Linked DNA regions of Homo sapiens: region 1 is linked to region 2. Evidence: promoter capture Hi-C in human tissues and cell types (Jung and others, 2019). All regions are on one chromosome and are shown on one strand. Each heading gives the region's core, a stretch centred on a gene start or on the middle of the fragment in contact. The rest is flanking DNA. Distances are from core to core; before and after follow the strand shown.

Region 1 (5,269 bases), core at 893-3,392, 65 kb after region 2:
AAGAAAAGACAGAAGACTGAATTATCATGCAGAACCTCCCAGGGTTGAAATGTTAGCAACTAGAATTCACTGTGTGAGGCAATCAAAAAATGGCAACAGGCTGGGTGCGGTGGCTCACACCTGTAATCCCGGCGCTTTGGGAGGCTGAGGGGGGAGGGTAGCTTCAGGCTAGGAGTTTGAGACCAGCCTGGGCAACATAGAAAGACCCCATCTCTACAAAAAATTTAAAAATTAGCTAGGCATGGTGGTGTGTGCCTGTAGTCGCAGCTACTTGGGAGGCTGAGGTAGGAGACTCACTTGAGCCTGGGAGGTCGAGGGTGCAGTGAGCCATGATGGCACCAACACACTGCAGCCTGGGCGACAGAGCACGCGCGCACTCTCTCTCACAAACACACACACACACCAAAAAAGGCTATTAGTGGAATATGGCCCATGAGCCACCAATATGAAGCAGTAGTGGAAAGGCAGGAAAGGAAATAGGATCCTCTTTTGCTTTTCTTCCACTCCTCATCTGAAGGCCTTTACAAGGCTTTGATGCCAGAACTGGAAGAGACAGGCACGCATGCTTGAGACTAAACATTGAATGAACTTTGGCCAGGTGTGGTGGCTCATGCCTGTAATCCCAGCACTTTGGGAGGCCGAGGTGGGTGGATCGTCTGAGGTCAGGAGTTCGAGACCAGCCTGACCAACATGGAGAAACCCTGTCTCTACTACAAATACAAAATTAGCTGGGTGTAGTGGCGCATGCCTTGTAATCCCAGCTACTCAGGAAGGCTGAGGCAGGAGAATCACTTGTTGCAGTGAGCCAAGATTGCGCCACTGCACTCCAGCCTGGGCAACAAGAGCAAAACTTGGTCTCAAAAAAAAAAAAAAAACAAAAAAAACGAAGGAACTTCAAGGGTAATCTTACATGATGGTGAAAATATAACTCAACGAGGGTCAATTCAATGTTATTAAACAGACTAGCAAAATTTATTGGGCATCAGAACCAAGTTTCTTTCTTTTTTTTGTGAGACAGGGTCTTGCTCTGTTGCCCACGTTAGAGTGTAGTGGCGTGATCATAGCTCACTGCAGCCTCAACCTCCTGTGCTCAAGTGATTCTCCCATCTCAGCCTCCTGAATAGCTGGGAATACAGGTGTGCGCCACCAAGCCCGACTAATTTTTAAAAAAATGTTTTGTAGAGACAGGGTCTTGCTATGTTTCTCAGGCTGGTCTCGAACTCCTGGCCTCATGTGATCCTCCCAGCCTGGCTCCCCAGAGTGTTAGGATTACAGGTGTGAGCCACTTTGCCTGGGTCAGAACAAAGTTTCTTTAATGATACCTATATATCCCTGTAGCAACTTAAGGGTTTCACAACTAATCTTCATATTCATTTTTCAGATAGTAACATGGAAGCACTAGTAGCCCAATGACTTGCCCAAGACTCTACTGCTAGTCAGTGGCAGTGTGAAAGCAAACAAATTGTCTGGATTTTAGTGACTGCTCTCCCACAGCATGGCTGCCCAGGGCGACACATTTGCTATATATTTTGTTTCACTCATCACATTTGACAAAGCTTGAATATTATAATACATGAGAATTGAAAGGGTCATTACAGGCAATGCAACCCCAGCAACTCTGCTTCCATTTTGCTCACGTGCATAACATACTCCCATCTGAAATATTTCCTCACAGCAATTATTCAGAACTGAGGTGGAGAGAGAGGCACAGAACTGTGGAGGGTGGAAGGGAGTGTATATGGAGACAGAACTGCACCCTTGAAGAAATCGTCTCCCATCAACCCCCTGCTCCGCTTGCTCCCGCCCCACACCTGGGTTAAAAATTACTGGTTCGGTCCATCCCTCTTCCGTTTTACTTGACAGGTTAGGGAACGAAGGACAAGTCAGATGAGTGGCTGGCCCAAGTTCAGAGTTACAAAGTGGCAAAGCCAAGTCCAAAACTCAACCTCTAAAACAAAAATACAGGGCAAGGAAGGGGGCTCTAATGGTTTCAAATATTCCCAAAGACAATATTACAGATTGCAGGGTTTTGGGGAGATGTTCTGTAACTGTTTAATGACTTTTCTGGAACACCAGACGCACAGTTTCTCTTACCTCCCATCCTTCCATTTCCAGTCCTCTCTTCCCATATATATCATAGATGGCCCTGGTTTGGGGGTCACTAAGCACTGCAAATTAAAAATTAAACATGTTTATAAAATACAAAATTCACCTTCAGTCCTTCCTGAGAATACTGACATCATTAGGTAAGCCCATCTCCTGTTCTCCCTGTCTGATCACAATCTTCCTAGAGACCCCTTTCATTTTCTACACATCTTTCCTCCCAACTGCTTTTTCGATTCAACCTAGGATTTGTTTATTGACTTATTGACTGACAGGGTCCTTCTCTGTTGTCCTGGCTGGAGTGCAATGGTAAGATCATAGCTCACTGCAGCCTTGAATTCCTGGGCTTAACTAATCCTCCTGCTCTAGCTTCCCAAGCAGCTGGGATTACAGGTGTGTGCCACCATGCCCAGCTAATTTATTTTTTGTAGAGATGGGGTCTCACTATGTTGCCTAGGCTGATCTCGAATTCCTGGCCTTAAATGATTCTCTTGCCTTGGCCTTGCAAAGTGTTGGGATTACAGGTGTGAGCCACTGCACCCAGCTAATGTAGGATATGTTTAAAGGCGGCTACAAATGAGAAAAGTCAGATTTTCCAGTGTCCAAGTTACTCTTGATTGGAAGGTACAGCTACAAGGTGTACAAGGTGCACCATGCAGGAAGTGGCACGGGCTCCTGCATTGGGAAAGGACATGAACGTTGTTTTTAAGATAATTTGGTAAATTTCTGCCACGGTGTATAAAAGTACACTGACTTGAAAGAGTGGGTTCCAGTTTCTAAAGAAGCTTGCTATAAAAGTAGAAACAGGCTCAGATACTAGAAAAAGCTGATTTGTTATTTACTCTATAGAGTTCTGTTAACTCCAAAGACAGGCTACATTTCTTTTGTGCACTTCTCCTCTCTATTTGTAAATAATTTTAAAAGACAAAAACATCTCTTATCATGTTGTTGGCCACATCACCCAAAATACATCAGAAAAGGATTTCTCAGCTAACGGTGAGGGCTGTTCAAACGATATCCCAACTGAACGATATCCCAACTGAACTCAAATGTCAGCAAGGCCAATGGTTGTTCTCTTCCCCCTCTGCTTCACCAATTTCTGCCAAGACCTTTGGGTCTCTTCTCCCCTGACAGTTCCCATATATTTGTAGGCCTAATTTAAAAACCACATAAATGATACTATGCATAATCAAATCTAACGGGAAAGGAAGAAATGCTGGCCCCTGGAAAACACAGGAGCCAAACTTGTGTTCCTCTCCAGCATTTAATAAGGAATTATTCATTCACTATTTTACCTGAGTCTCCCTTTAAGCTAAACATGAGGCCAGGTCTGCTGTTGTGGCACTTTCACTAGCACTGGTAGGGTTTTTCTTTAACTCTTCCCCAGGTCTCCAACACAATACAAGCAAACTATGTGGCTAATTTAGACAACAGTAAAATTAATGCACCCATTTAGATAACAGAATACAATAAAAAGAACAGGCTACTCTTCACAACCGCCATGCAAATGATCTGAATACAGTTAAATTTGGTAATGACACTACACCGACTGTACACATTTATCACACACTGCAGCCTGATTTTCACTGGCCATTAAAATCTAACTTTTTGGTAAAACTATAAAGTGAAAAACACTACAAGCTATTATGTATACAGTGAGATGACTTTATGATTTTATAAAGAAACATATTATCTAATTTTTGGTCTAAGGAGCAAATCACCAGATGGTTCTGGAACAAATAACTTATTGTAGTTGATGTATATAACAGTGATTTAACATTTTTTTTAATTTAAATTTTAAAAATGGTGGTAAAATATACATATAATATTTACCATTTTAACCATTTTAAAGTATACAATTCAATAGCATGAAGTACATTTACAATGTTGTGTAACCATCATCACTCTCTATTTCCAGAACTTTTTGCCATCCCAGACAGAAGCTCTGTATCTGGTAGTGACTTTAATATTTTATAAACAAATATATCACAGAATGTTCTTTCTGACATACATAAGACATAAGTATAAAAATGTGAATCACTTGGTTCTATTTCCTATAAGCCTTCTTAACATCATTTTCTTTCTTTTATTACAACCGATAACTGCTTCAGAACCAATAAAATCACTTTTGGATGAAAAAATGTCCTTGTATCTTCTAACAAAAAAGAGAACAAAGAAACCTTCCCTGTAACGATCAGCCTTTTACCTATAAGAGTTCCCTTTAGAAGAAAACTGGTAAACGATTTAAAACTTGAGTATTCCCTTGCAATTGAGACTCTGTCTATTACCTCGCCCGGTCTCTCATTTTCTACTTACTGGACACGTATTGATTTCCAAAGCAAAATACTATTCTTTCAAAGGACCCTGTCAGTGAAAAGTACTAAACTAACCACCTGTTTTATATACCTCTAAGGACTCTCTTTTTCTATCCTCTACAAATCGCACCTCCTAAAAATCGAATATCTGTTACCAGGATGTTTCTACAAAGTCCGGCCCTCCACTGACCTTCATAAGCCTGGTGAACAAGGTTAAACAGTCGTTCCGCCTGTGACTTGAGCTCTGGGTCTCTGTGCTTGTCTGGATGGTAGAGCATACAGAGCCTCCGGTAGGCAGCTTTCAGCTCTTCAGAAGAGGCCTAAAGAAAGAAAAATTCAATTAGAGAACAATCAATGCTACTTAAACATTATCATCATCAGAATCAGCCTTGAAATGGGAACCCATCAGCCACGTCCCAATGTGTTTGCTCTCGACATACAGGATGTAATGAAGTTCGGTTTATCACCTCAACAAGGCTTCTTTTTGCCAGTTAATAAAGTGATCAATTACATACATCAATAGGGACTGGGTTTTGCTGGGAAGTGCTGCTATCCAATGAATGAACGTTTGGGTCTCTGGAATGGCTCAGTGTGCTCTGAGCTGAAACAAAAATGTCACAGAGACGTGCTAACTCTTTAACTTATTTGAAGTAAATCATGCCAAGGCACTCTAAACAGAACAGGTTCAGGCAAAGAAAAGCTATATACCATTAGACAGAAATGACATCAATTTAATGACATAACGAACATGAATCCTTGAAATTCAAAGACAAACTTGTAAGGCCCACGTGCACTCGAATGCAACCTCTAATTCCAGAAGGCAGCACATTCAGTGGCAGAAATGCTTCCCT
Region 2 (5,411 bases), core at 1,997-4,496:
TTCAAGACCAGCCTGTCCAACATGGTGAAACCCCGTCTCTACTAAAAATACAAAAAATTAGCCGGGTGTTGTGGCGCATGCCTGTAATCCCAGCTCTCAGGAGGCTGAGGCAGGAGAATCGCTTGAACCCGGGAGATAGAGGTTGTGGTGAACCAGGATCACACCACTGTACTCCAGCAGGGGCAACAAGAGTGAAACTGTCTCAAAAAAGAAAGAAGAATAAACTCTCAAATTGGAAATGAAGGACCTACTCAGAATAATGGACTTGTTGACAAAACTGAGCTTAGAATTCACAGGCCTATATTGGACTACTTGGTTACATCAAGGAAGGAAAATCCCAAACATGGATTGAGTCAGGGGACAGATTTTCAGACTCAAGTGATAACTTTTGCTCAGAGTGGGTATTCACTCCAGGCAGGCAAGATAGCTCAGGACTGTAAACTCTACAATTTGGGAGGCCTGGGTGGGAGGATCCCTTGAGCCCAGGAGTTCCAGAACAGCCTTGGCAACATACGGAGACCCTGTCTTAAAAAAAAAAAAATTAGGCCTGGCATGGTGGCTCACGCCTGTTAATCCCAGCACTTTGGGGGAGGCTGAGGCGGGTGGCCATTCTTTCTTTTTTTGAGATGGAGTTTCGCTCTTGTTGCCCAGGCTGGAGTGCAATGGCGTGATCTCGGCTCACTGCAACCTCCACCTCCCTGACCCATGTCGGTCAGGCTGGTCTCGAACTCCTGACCTCAGGTGATCTGCCTGCCTCGGCCTCCCAAAGTGCTAGGATTACAGGTGTGAGCCACCGTGCCTGGCCCGATAATTTCTTAATATGTGTGTGTGTGGGAAAGGATTTAATGTTTATTATGTGACACATTTACCACAGGGGATAATAATGAGGTGTAAAAAAAAAAATCCCTCTTCTTTCACTTGGGTTTCACCTCTAATAATTATTCTTGGCCAGGCGCGGTGGCTCACGCCTGTAATCCCTGCACTTTGGGAGGCCTAGGTGTGCGGATCACGAGGTCAAGAGATCAAGACCATCTGGCCAACATGGTGAAACCCTGTCTGTACTAAAAATACAAAAACTAGCTGGGCGTGGTGGTGGGCGCTGGTAGTCCAGGCTACTTGGGAGGCTGAGGCAGGAGAATCGCTTGAACCCGGGAGGTGGAGGTTGCAGTGAGCTGAGATGGCGCCACTGTACTCCAGCCTGGCGACAGAGGGAGATTCTGTCTCCAAAAAAAAAAAGAATTATTCTTTTTGGTATTTACATTTTTAAACTACCAACGGGATCAACACCTTAGCAGTGTTTCTTATTCTGGCAAAACGAGTTGCTCCTTGTGAATATGACCTTGGGCAATACAGGCTAACTTCGGGGCATCTGCTTTGGTCACAGTAACCAGGTAACATTCCAAATCTGGCTAAATCATCTGTGCAATTGTATAAGAAGTTGTTAATCAAGTCTCGATGGGCCAAGTCCAATGTCTCTGTTTTAATCAGTAATTTCATGTTTTATCTTGTAAAGTACCTCAATTTATCACCTTTGGGAAGCCCTCCAATGGGCTACAATATTGCAGAAATAATAAAACAACAACAACAACAACAACAGTAAGCTACCATTTATTTAGCCAGGCACTACGCTAAAATTTAACAGCTTAGGAAACTGAGGCTCAGAGAAGTATTTTTTTTTTTTTTTTTGAGACAGAGTCTCGCTCTGTCGCCCAGGCTGGAGTGCAGTGGCACGATCTCGGCTCACTGCAAGCTCCGCCTCCCGGGTTCAAGCAATTCTCCCGCCTCAGCCTCCCGAGTAGCTGGGATTACAGGTGTCCGCCACCACGCCCATCTAATTTTTGTATTTTTAGTAAAGACGGGGTTTCACCATGTTGGTCAGGCTGGTTTCGAACTCCTGACCTCGTGATCCACCCGCCTCGGCCTCCCAAAGTGCTGGGAATACAGGCGCGAGCCACCGCGCCCGGCCGCTCAGAGAAGTATTTCTAAGATTAACACCATCTCCTAACTATTAAATATCTTCATCAGAATGATCATAACCCTTGAAATAGCAACAGCCAGCTTGATGGAGCATTCGGCGCCTGTCAAATATCTTACTAGTATCTCCAAGAGTTCGTTTTCTAATTTGAATTTTCAATTTTGTGTCACTCCCCTTTAACTTCTTCGAAGCTACCAAACAGGTTACTGAATCATCTGCGTTTTGTACTTACCTTTTTCCCCCACTTTCGAATATTAAAAATGTTCCCGTCAGACCGCCTTTTGGTCACCGCATAGGGGCAGTCCCCACCGTGTCCGGCCAGCCTTCCACACGTACAGCTGTCGGATACTCTGCGGTCCAGCGTTTACACACTGCCCATCCCAGTTAAACACCACTAAACAAGTACCAGTCGATGCCAGCGCCAAACACCGCGTCTCCGCCTCGCCCTGCGGGCCGGAGGATATTCAGGAGAGTGGGAAAACGGCCGGTCCCAAGGTTAGGCTTAGGCGGCAACAGAAAGCAAACTGAACGCACACCTCTTTAGAACACTGACAACGCTGGCCCGGTGTTTTTAATGCACGAACCCGGCCACCTCGAGTGAATCCCGCAGATGCCTAGAGAAGAGCCCGGTCCAGTCCCGGCCCCGCGGGCCCGGAGCAGGGAGCCGCACGAAGCCCGCAGCCGCGAAAACAACTTCGCTGAGCCCGGCCTGGAGCGGGGGCCGGGCGGCGACTCCGCCCTCAGCGGGGAGCGGGGAGCGGGGAGCGATGCCCGGGGCGGCCGCGACGTCAGCGTCCCCGCCCCTGCCGCCCCTACTCCCGGCCAGGCCTCGGGGACCCCCGCCCCACAAAGGGGCGCGAACCCCAAGTAGGAGACGAGGAAGGGTAGGTGCCAGCCGCCGCCGCCCTTCGCAACCCGGGCCGTCAGCCCCGCCCCCACCGCCGCAGCGACTCCCGCCCCCGCGCCCGCCGAGACCAAGGCGCTACCGCTCACACTGCCCCTCCCCCCGCGGCCGAGCCGGCGCGGGCCCCCGCACCTCCCCCGCTCGCGCGGCCTCGAGTCCAGAAGACCCGCCTCCACACACCGGGGCCGCCGCCGCGGAGCCTCATGGGGGTTGGAGTCCCCAAGGTTTCCTTTGTGCGCAGTATTGGCGGGGCCTTGGACTACCACTCCCACAAGGCACCGCGCCCGCCTCCCGCGCCACGCCCCCTCGCCGCTGGCTTCCAGTCGCCACCCAGACTACATTTCCCGACAGGCCTCCCGGCTCTCCCGCCCTCCCTCCCGAGACACGAGCCGAACTGGGCGTCAGGTCGGGGAGCCGGTCGGGTTCCCGCTCACCGCCGCCGCCGCCGCCCCCTGCAGCCACTCTCCCGCCTCTACCGCCGCGGGAGCTGCATCGTCCACTCCGGTCGGCGGTGGAACCGCCAGTCCGGGGTCACAGAGCTTGAGAAGCGACGCGCTGAGCCCCCCATCACCTCCAGCCCGGGCGACCCCTCCCGGGTCCGCCCTCGCCCTGCGCAGCCGCCCGAGCCCCCAGCCCCGGGCGGCCCCGCTCCAGCATCCCAGCTCCTGCACTCTCGCAGCCGCCGCCGCCCCCCGCCCGGAACATGGACTCTGACTCTTGCGCCGCCGCCTTCCACCCGGAGGTGAGTGAAGCTGTGCGTCCGAATCGCCCCCGACCACCCCCTCCGCGATCCTGCCGTCCTCAGGCAGCCAGACCCCCGGTCGCCCGGAGCGCCGCCCTCCCCTTCCCCCGCTTTCCCCTCGTCGGCCCCCCCGGGAGCCCAACCCCCGCCCCCTGCTCGGGCCCGCGCTCGGTCCTCTCCGCCGGGCCTCGCCTCCGCGTCCCCTCCGCGGACCTCCGCGTCCTCCCCGCGCCCTTTCCCCAGGGCCGTTGCGCCTATTTCTCTCCCCCGGGCCGCCCCTCTCCGGCCTCGCGTCGACCTGGGACCTGTCGGCGCCCCCAGCCCCTCCCCGCCGGCCTGCTTACTCTTTCCCCGCCCCCGGGGACGCGGTCCGAGCCGCCGCCCGCCCCTGGCTCCGGTTGCTCTCGAGGAGTTTTAGGCCCCCCTCGGACCGGGGTCGGCTCCCGAGGCCCCCGGCTGCTCCCCCGATCCCCCGGGCCCGGTGGCCCGCGCCCCGCCCCCTGACTCCGCGCGGGGCCCAGTCGGCCCCCGCCCCCTACGGCTCTCGGGGGCCGCGTCCTCCGGGGGCCCCACCCGCTCTGGGGACCCGAGTCCTGCCCCCACCCACCGCCCCCCGGCGCGCTGGCCTCTCTCTTCGGGCCCCCGCCCCCCGCCCGCGGGCTTTGCTGGCTCCGCCCCGGCTCACTCCCCCTCCTTCCGGGGATCGGCCCTCGGGGCTCCCGGCCTCCCCCCCGCGCGGTCCCCTCCCCCCAGCCGAGGCTCGTTGGGGTCGGGGGTGCGGGTCCGGCGACCGCGGGCGGGTGGGGGAGGGGAGGCGGCGCCGGAGCCCGCCGGTCTCGCTGCCGCCCCCGGGGGTTCGCAGGGCCTCCCCAGGCCTGGGACCCCGGAATCCTGCCTGGCGCACCCCCCTCACACATACTCGCGGGATGGGCCCCGCACCTTCGGGGGCCGAGTGTCGCGGGGGGCGGCTGCCGCGGGAGGGCGGGTGGGGGCCGCTCCGCCATCTGCTTTCCGAGGAGGCGGCCGGGGGGGCGGGCGGCGTGGGCCGTGTGGGGGCGGCGTGGAACCCCCAGTCCCCGCGCCGGTGCCTCCCGCGCGCCCCCGGCCCGAGGCCGTCGCCGCCCTCCACTTGGCATTCGGGTTTTTGACCCACTTCTGCTGGTTCCCCGCCGAAAGAAAAGTTCTTCGCGGGAGTTGGAGGCCCGGGTGGCGGCCCGCGGTTCCCGTGGCTGGGCAGGCTCGCCAGTGCGGGGAGCGCGGTCAACGCGGGCCTTCGCCTCCGCTCCGTGGGCGGCCCTGGGGTCCAAGGGGGTGGGAGAGGAGAAGGTTTGCTTGAACCAGGTTGAGAAAATAATTTTCTAAGGGCACCGACTTTCTCGAAAGAAAACCCGCGGGCCGCACGCCTGCTCCTCGCGGCGGGAGGGGCGGCCCGAGACCCCTGCCCCCCATTTCCCCACCGGCTCTCCCCCAGCAGAGTGGCGGCCGGGTAACAGCACCTCGGGAAGGATGGGGGTGGGTCGGACAAGGCACTGAAAGGAACCTCAGGGAACGTGCCGGGCGAATAAACAGCAATACGGCACACTTGTTTTGCTTAGGAGCAAATAAGAGCTCCATCTCTCCGTGCTTCTCTCAGGAGAAAATATCTTTTTGTGATGGGTGTTTCTAGATGGAATGGGGCTGGGACCCGCGAGCAAAAACCTCCACTATTCCGTTTAAATGTAAGACTAAGCTTCGCAGTAAGGTTCTTGGTTTATTGTGAGTTGAGATAGTTGGGTGCCTGGCATCCCGAC

What was found. Contacts are between HindIII fragments. The study calls those that stand out against the background at their distance.
Region 1: a contact is called between a fragment that was not itself captured here and the fragment with the promoter of PHF13 in region 2, in 2 of the 25 tissues and cell types used here (heart right ventricle and ovary).

The regions. Positions count from the first base shown.
Region 1 is chr1:6,676,300-6,681,568 of GRCh38, forward strand. DNAJC11 (DnaJ heat shock protein family (Hsp40) member C11) reads right to left here. Exons shown (of 16, transcript NM_018198.4): 2 at 4,609-4,738; 3 at 2,095-2,168. Among named protein-coding and RNA genes, the nearest start is that of DNAJC11, 23 kb to the right of the region's middle. The HindIII fragment of the contact is 5,628 bases long and covers 1-4,956 here.
Region 2 is chr1:6,610,485-6,615,895 of GRCh38, forward strand. PHF13 (PHD finger protein 13) reads left to right here and starts at 3,247. Exons shown (of 4, transcript NM_153812.3): 1 at 3,247-3,621. The coding sequence starts at 3,583. It overlaps LOC107984913 (a long non-coding RNA gene), which reads right to left and starts at 2,903. Exons shown (of 2, transcript XR_001737882.3): 1 at 2,208-2,903. RefSeq lists silencers at 2,696-2,745, 2,796-3,575, 3,746-3,835, 3,976-4,435. The HindIII fragment of the contact is 11,446 bases long and covers 1-5,411 here.